Linked DNA regions of Homo sapiens: region 1 is linked to region 2. The links are contacts of gene promoters, found by promoter capture Hi-C in blood cells and fetal thymus (Javierre and others, 2016). All regions are on one chromosome and are shown on one strand. The core of a region is centred on a gene start or on the middle of the fragment in contact, and the rest is flanking DNA. Distances in the headings are between cores, read along the strand shown.

The links. Contacts are between HindIII fragments. The CHiCAGO score rates a contact against its expected background, and 5 or more counts as called.
Region 1: a fragment that was not itself captured here is called in contact with the fragment with the promoter of ANKRD40 in region 2 in 2 of 17 cell types (M0 macrophages and megakaryocytes); the score reaches 6.6 in M0 macrophages.

What each region holds. Positions count from the first base shown.
Region 1 is chr17:50,516,149-50,519,942 of GRCh38, reverse strand. MYCBPAP (MYCBP associated protein) reads right to left here. Exons shown (of 19, transcript NM_032133.6): 2 at 3,246-3,373; 3 at 2,491-2,650; 4 at 2,245-2,348; 5 at 1,219-1,402; 6 at 854-969; 7 at 156-303. Among named protein-coding and RNA genes, the nearest start is that of MYCBPAP, 9.6 kb to the right of the region's middle. The HindIII fragment of the contact is 2,146 bases long and covers 1,084-3,229 here.
Region 2 is chr17:50,706,223-50,710,418 of GRCh38, reverse strand. ANKRD40 (ankyrin repeat domain 40) reads left to right here and starts at 2,505. Exons shown (of 5, transcript NM_052855.4): 1 at 2,505-2,898. The coding sequence starts at 2,765. RefSeq lists silencers at 2,560-2,769, 2,900-3,169. The HindIII fragment of the contact is 9,335 bases long and covers 1-4,196 here.

The sequences.
Region 1 (3,794 bases), core at 907-3,406, 190 kb after region 2:
TCAGGAAGACTCTGGGACTTGCCTAAGACCCCAGAGAACCACAGAGAAACAGGCCCTGGGCCTGTTTCACTGTAGAGCTATGCTGGCCACTTCCACACTACCCTGCCTCCGGGCCAGGCACAAGATGCTAGCTGGCTTACAGCCCTGCGCCTCACCTGTCTCCACCCGGATGGAGTGGGGCTTCCTGATGTGAGTGATGGGCTCCATGAGGCCACGCTGAGTTTTTGTCTTGGTCATGACCAGACCTGTCATCTCATCTCCCAAGTATTCCAGTCGACTCCAGAACCCACTGTTCTCCCAGCTCTGGCAAGGAAGGAAAGGTGAGTCAGATTACCAGGACACCTCAGCCAGATGCTGGTGGAGATGTGGGAAGACAAGAGCACCACCACAGGCTACAGATGCTTCCTCTGGGGAATTCATTGCTGCCGTGATTGCATAACAGAAGCATCCACTGCCGTGTTTTCTGGACACCCTGTTGTCATCTTTACCTGCCCCCAGCCAGATGGTGTGGGTTGGTACAGGTACTGCACTGGTCTACCAGAAAAAAAGGTGGGGGACTCTTCAACCTCTCTCTTTAGGGTGTAGGCTCCACTCAGTCTAAGCTCCTAGGAGACAAACACTAAGACTACTCTAATAACTTGCTACCTGTGTGGTCACCACAGGCTGAATAACTTTACTGACTAATCATATAATTTAGTAAAGGCCTTGAGGGCCTAATGATGTTTTGCAATGGATAGGTTTTTTCTCCCCAGCTGTGCCACCTGAGACCAGCATCCCTGTGTCCAGACACCTGCCCCCGCCCCCTCCTCCATGGACCCCCCTGCCCCCGGGCACTTAGGACAGGTGGCCTCACTTTCCTATCACGCCGGGTTGGAAGTGTGCAGTCAATGAGCTCCCGCTCCTCCTGGATCCGTCTGTAGGTCTCCCCGGTGTGCATGAGCAGCTCACTCACTGGCTTCTTTAGGTGTTCTAGAGAGAGAGGCAAGATTGCCGCCACTCTGCCGAACCAGAACAAACAGGGGCCTTGGCAGTCTGCATCGGGCAGCCTCCCTCACAGGGCTGATTTCAGGATCCACTGAAGCTTCAGAGTGAGACACTCTTGGGAGTGAAAGCACAAATGTGGTCAGCCCAAGGCCAGGCTCTGGAGGAGAGCAAACAACCCAGCAGAGCCTTGCTGCCAGATGGAGGCCGGGCGGGAGCCCTGTCTGCTCTGCTCACCGCTGAGGGCTTCCTGCTGCTTCTTCCGCAGGGCTGTGTTACGCTGCCAGTTTTTCAGAAAGTTGTGCTGAGGAGGTGGGGCCCAGGGAGGTCTCTTCTCTTCTTTTGGGGCTTTTTGCTTTGACTCTCCTTCAGCAGAGATGAGGGTCATCAGACAGGGTGAGGTAGGTATCCGCTCAGCCAGCTGAAAAGTACAACATAGGTATGTGGAGGGCAGTAAGAAGGCTCTGGGCAGGGCTGAGCACACATTTCCCGAGGCCTAAACCCGTGCTGTTATCCCACTGCGCTGAGAGTCCCTCCTCTTCAGGACTCCAGAGTAGCCAGTGACAGAAAATAAATCCCAGAACCAGGGGGCCCTGAAAGCAGCTGTCAGTCCACTCTCCCCCACAAAGGGAACTTCTGTTTCAAGATTGGGGTCAACATCTAGTGTATTTGTCCTCACAACTGATGTTGATTGCCACCTTCACCCATGTGTAAATGGAAGCATTCTTACAGGGCCCCAGGCCCCTTAGCGCCTGACCAATCAGAGTCAGCCTGGAACCAGGGAAGCAAGGGGAAGAGACAGGTGAAGCACTGCATGATGGGAAGGCTGGAAAGATACAGAATCTTCCCGTGGCCCAGGAAGCAGTGGGAAGCCACCTTCCTCCACCACGTGGACTGAGGAGGGCAGGCCAGTCTCCAGAGAAGGGAAAATCAAGACAGTGCACAGAGCAGAGGGAAATGAGGCATGTGGGCCCTGAGTCCTGATGCCTTTTTGGGTGCAGTCTACCCAGACCCAGGTACTCCCGCCTTTGGGTTCCATGAGGCAATCTCTGGAATCCTTACAGTAAATCCCTGACTTCACTGAAGCCAGCTTCAGCTGCCTGAAGTGTCCAACTATTCTGGGAGAGGGTCCCTTATCAACTCAGACTCAAAACCTACAGACTAGACTGTCTCTTTAACCCCAGCCCTGCTTGACTGTGTCAGGTGGGAGACCAAAATGACTTCAGTGACTGCTCTCATCCGGGTAGTTCTGTGCAAACAAACCTGGGTGTTCCCTCGAGCAAGTGCAATTCTCTTAAAATCCTGGAGACTCCCCAAGATGTGGTGGGGCAGGATCTGGTCACTGCCATCGAAGCTGTCACCGGGACCTGGGAGGATAAAAGAAGAAAGGGGAAAGAAGCTGTGGGTGGACAACTTTCAAGAGGGCAACTTTCTGATGGAGACTGGGTTTCTCTTGAGGCTGACCCATGAGTTGAAAGACAGTGAAGCCAGGGCTGAGACTGGGTGTACCGGAGTAGTCCAGAGGCTTTGTGGCTTCATCAGGATTCGCAGGACGTGCTACAAGGTGGCAGACCTTCCTCCTAGGATCCATGGGTTTGAGTTTACGGATGATAAATTTCTGGGTGATGACACGTTTATCTTCCTTTTCAGTAAGGCGAGGAATGTGTTGCTAAAAAGAAATAAAACAAAGGAGAATTCCACCTGTGGTGGCAGGAGGAAGAGCACCACCCATCTCTTCTGTTCTAGTTCTGGGTGGAGTTCCTGAAGGCTGACAGATCTGTTTCTTCAGCTCTGTCCATATGTTCTGTCAAGGAAATGCCTGTGTAACAGATATGTGACTTAGTAATATCCTGGAGGGAAAAAAAAGAACATCTTATGCCTCCAGACAGTTTGGGTGAGAGATGGCTGACTCTCCCAGGTAAAGCATGGGGTTAGGGTTTAGCAGCTTTACCCAGAGCTGTACCTTGGCTCCTTAAACTCATCCTCCGGTCTGTGAAATGGGAATGATGGCACCTACCTCTATGGGAAGCAAGATACCTCATCATCTCATTTCCCCTGTGGTTCTATATGAATCTCAGAAATGTTAAAACAGACAACACAGTGAATTCCTTAAGGTGGTAAAGTGAAAAGAATCTGTGTTCAGTGGGTTTTTCCATGGAGTTAGACACTCCCCATGAGTAGGGACATGGCTGGTGTTCTAGACCACTCAGGCTGCCGGCAGGGAAACGTTTCTATGGTAAGGGAAGCTTGGGCTTCATCCTCACCTCCTTCAAGTCTTCCTTCTTAATGGCCAAGGCAAGAATGTCATCTCCTTGTAGGACATTGCTAACAGGTTCAGGCTCTTCCTGAATTGTGGGTGTGGGTTGTTCAGGTCCCTTTGCCCGCTTCTTTTCTGAAGAGAAGCAGAAAGTTATTAAGTCCTTAAAGAGCTCCTTCTGTATATATCAATATATACATACAAAAATAAAAGTAAAAATATATACTAGACTCCATGGTGGGGGGCAGAGCTGACCAGCTGGATAGATAGCAGAGGCTGCCAAGGTGGCCTGGGTAGCACTTTGCTGGGGCAATGGGAGTTCTCTCTGGAGGGTCCCCCTACCCACAGCCCCTGGCTCACCACAGTGACTAAGACTTCTGTAGCCAGAATTGAGATCAGAAGATGTTTCGTTTCAGGCCAGGTGTGGTGGCTCATGCCTGTAATCCCAGCACTTTAGGAGGCTGACACAGGAGGATCACTTGAGGCCAGGAGTTCAAGACCAACCTGGCCAACATGGTGAAACCCCGTCCCTACTAAAAATACAAAAATTAGCCAG
Region 2 (4,196 bases), core at 1,256-3,755:
GTGGCAAAGCTGGCATACAAACCCAGGCAGTCTGGCGTCTGTCTCCACACTCACTACCACTATGCCACATTGTTTCTATTGTAATGCATAGCACATTCTATTGTTCGCCTTGTCTCCCCTGATAAACTGTTCTTCAAAGTCAAGGACTCTGATTCATTTGCAGCAGCATCCTCAGTGACTAGAACAGTGCCTGGCAAACAGCACATGCTTAATACAGTTCAGTGAGTTAGGTAGTTCCCTAGAGACAAGACAGAGTAGAGATAAATGGAAGTAGTAATAGAACAGCCAGCAGGTTACATTCAGTTATATCCAAGATCAGAAGTTTTGTTTGTGGATAAAATTTTGTTTTTTTTAATCTGAAGATAATAAACAGAAGACTGAAATCAGAGTAAGTAGAGGTTGAGTTTAAGAAGATCTACTAATATTCACGGATACAGCAGTTATGTAGGGTACATGCTATAATCCTTTTAAGGAAGGGACATTTGACAAACTCTCATAAAGAGAACTCATAGACTTTGGGGGCCGGGCGCGGTGGCTCATGCCTGTAATTCCAGCACTTTGGGAAGCTGAGGCGGGCGGATCACCTGAGGTCGGGAGTTTGAGACCAGCCTGAGCAACATGGAGAAACTCCGTCTCTACTAAAAATACAAAAAATTAGCCAGGCATGGTGGAACATGCCTGTAATCCCAGCTACTCAGGAGGCTGAGGCAGGAGAATCGCTTGAACCTGGGAGGTGGAGATTGTGGTGAGCCGAGATCGCGCTGTTGCACTCCAGCCTGGGCAATGAGAGCGAAACTCCTCCATCTCAAAAAAAAAAAAAAAAAAAAAAGAACTCATAGACTTTGGGGTGCAGTCACGAACAATTTTTTTTAACTGCATTAAAAACAAAAAACAACAACAACAAAAAAACAAAAACAGGCCAGGCGCGGTGGCTCATGCTTGTAATTCCAGCACTTTGGGAGGCTGAGGCTGGCAGATCACATGAGGTCAGGAGCTGGAGACCAGACTGGCCAACATGGTGAAACCCCATGTCTACTAAAAATACAAAAATTAGCCGAGCATGGTGGCACAGGCCTGTAATCCCAGCTGCTCGGGAGGCTGAGGCAGGAGAATTGCCTGAACCTGGACTTAGAGGTTGCAAGGAGCTCAGAGATCGCCCCACCGAACACCAGCCTGGGCAACAGAGTGAGACTCTGTCTCAAAAACAAGCAAACAAAAACAACAAGCCACTACCTACTCCCATGTCACTGAAATTGTGTTGAAGGACTCAAATCCAGTGCCATACACATCAGTTTCAGATAGAGTATCATGCTGGATGTGAGAATTAAAATTTAAATTGGGGGAACAAATGAAAATGTAAGCTCAAGCAGGGTTACAATTTGCCATGGGGGTCAATTTAAGTGTGTAGTCAGTTTATATTCAGCACCACCTGGTGTGCACTGTGTACTGTGTGAATTACTGTATCATACTAAACAAACAGACATTGGTTTTTCTTAAACTGTAGCAAGAAAAATGCTTGCTGTGCAGATCCCAGCAGCCCCAAGAGACGGAAATGAAAACTCCATGCCTAAATTTATCCCTTCCTATTTCATCTCTCCTTGTTCAGGCCTTCCTCCCTTCCTCCCCAGGGCTATTTCCTTAATCTTGACCCCATCTGTAAAGTTCCATCCTGTGCCACATCGGAGGATCTCTTCAGGGCACCTGGGCTCAACAAAACAATATTTCCTTTTTCTCCCACTGGGTATAAAACAGTGCCAACTGAGGCTCTGAGCCTCATTAGATAGATCGGGCAAGAAGTGAAGCAAAATGCTGTTTACATGTACACCACAGCTCTTCCCAGAGCACTTGGAATCAGGACCAGGACACCTCCAAAGCCTCTTTGGTGTTTTTCCTTTCTTTTCTCCTTATATGGCCTTCATGAAGAGTAACTAATTACAATCTGTAAGCAGTAATTACAGTTCATAAACTGTGAGCACAATATAAATATTTTTCCTGAAAGCCAGGTTAGAAGAAATCCTGTCTAAAATGAGATGTAAAACAACAACAATTGAAATAAATATTCTAACTGAATTGTCCCCAAGCACTGTCAAAAAGAAGAAGAGTCTAATCTATCTCTGTAATAATGGGCGTATTATAGTAGGATCGTTTTCAGCCCATTTCCCCATCCTGCTGGGCACGAATTGGCTCAGATAAGGAAAAGGAGCCAACCAAACTGGGGGAAAATAACAAAAAAACCCCAAATCCCAATAAAAAGAACCCACCAATTATTTTGGATGCCTGGTAAACAGCCTGCACCAGAGGATAAGGCTTTTCTGGCCCTCAGCTATGCTTTTTTCTCTTTTCATGTGTCTTGTCCTCCTCCCTTGAAACTGCGGGGTGGGGAAGTCTAAAAATAGTCAATGAATCATGGCATATAATATTGTGCAGTAGTTACATAAACAGCCAGCCCGGGCGCCGGAGCCCCGGGTCGGAACGGAAAATATCTGGGTCAGCGTTGTCACACTGAACAGGGTCCCCCGGAGCCGGCCTTCGGGAGGCGCGGCCCGGGAGGAGGCCTGGGCCTGCGGGCCGGGAGCAGCAGGGGCGGCCCGCGGGAGGGAGCGGAAGTCCCGGGGCGGGCGCGGGCAGCGGCGCGAGCAGGGCGGGCGAGTTCCGCGCTCCCTCCCCATGGCCGGGAGCGGGCCGCGGCGACGGCGGCGGCGCTGACAGGCCCCGGGCGGGGCGGGGCAGGCGGGCCTGGGCGGGGGCCTGGGGCTGTGGGAAGATGAACGCCCTCCTAGAGCAGAAGGAGCAGCAGGAGAGGCTGCGGGAGGCCGCGGCCTTAGGGGACATTCGGGAGGTGCAGAAACTGGTGGAGAGCGGGGTGGATGTGAACTCCCAAAATGAGGTCAACGGCTGGTAAGTGGGGAGCGGGGGAGGCCTAGGGTCAGGGCAGCCGGTCGGAAGGCGTGGGGCAGTCAGTCGCGACCTGGGCCCAGCGCGGGACGCCTGGCTACGGCGAGGCCTGCCACCTCGGGCCTCCGAGATTGTGCTCTCTTGAGGCCAGCCCTGGCCCCCATGCCTCGTGCGGTCGGGAGCGCGTCCTGCCCAAATCCCGGCCCACGTGGTCCACTCGGGGCAGCGCCCACTGGGACTCTGGTGCCCTACCCCCTTCCCCCGCGCTCCCGGCTCACTTGGTCAGAGCGGTGCTGGAGGCAGTGATTCTCAGCGACTATGCGTTGGAGCTCACCCCAATTCGAGTGTTGAGTTAATTTGCCGTAGGTGCTTCTGGAGAACGCATCTTGCAGAGCTAAAAGCATAAGCAACTGAGCAAATATGAATTTTATAAACTAGCACGATTTCCTTAGCCAAGACCAGGAAAAAAAAACACATTTGCATCACCATTCTGCTTCTCTGTTGTTTCACTGCAACCGATTTGCTGCTGCTGCCTGTAGTTGCCTGTTTGAGGGAAAACTCATTTGTTTATCCTATCGATTATTTTCTTTCTTTTTTTTTTTTTTTTTTTTTTTTTTTTTGAGACAGGGTCTTGCCCTGTCGCCCAGGGTGGAGTGCAGTGGCATAGTCTCGGCTCACTGCAACTTCTACCTCCCCGGCTCAGGTGATCCTCCTGCCACAGCCTCCCAAATAGCTGGGAATACAGGCACGCGCCCCCACACCCGGCTAATTTTTTTTTTTTTTTTTTTTGGTATTTTTGGTAGAGATGGGGCCAGGTTGGTCTCAAACTCCTGGCCTCAAGTGATCCACCCGCCTCAGCCTCCAAAAGTGCTGGGATTACAGATGTGAGCCTACCGTTCCTGGCCAGTTTTCTTATTACAATTTCAAATACAGAATGTCACCCAAGACTTTAGATGTCTGCCTGCAGATTGAATTCTTCCCAATTAAATAAGGAGTCTCATCTTAAGATGTTGCTGGTGGTCAAAACAGAAAGTTACTGAATGTGGCATTATTCCGCTCTCTGCATTTAAAATTTAAAATTTTGATTCAGGTAATGCTTAGCCAGACTATTTTGCTAGCTTAGAGTTAAAGTGAGTAGCACTTTGGGAGGCTGAGGTGGGCGGATCACGAGGTCAGGAGATCAAGACCATCCTGGCCAACATGATGAAACCCCGTCTCTACTAAAAATACAAAAATTAGCTGGGCGTGGTGGTGCATGCCTGTAGTCTCAGCTACTTGGGAGGCTGAGGCAGGAGAATCAC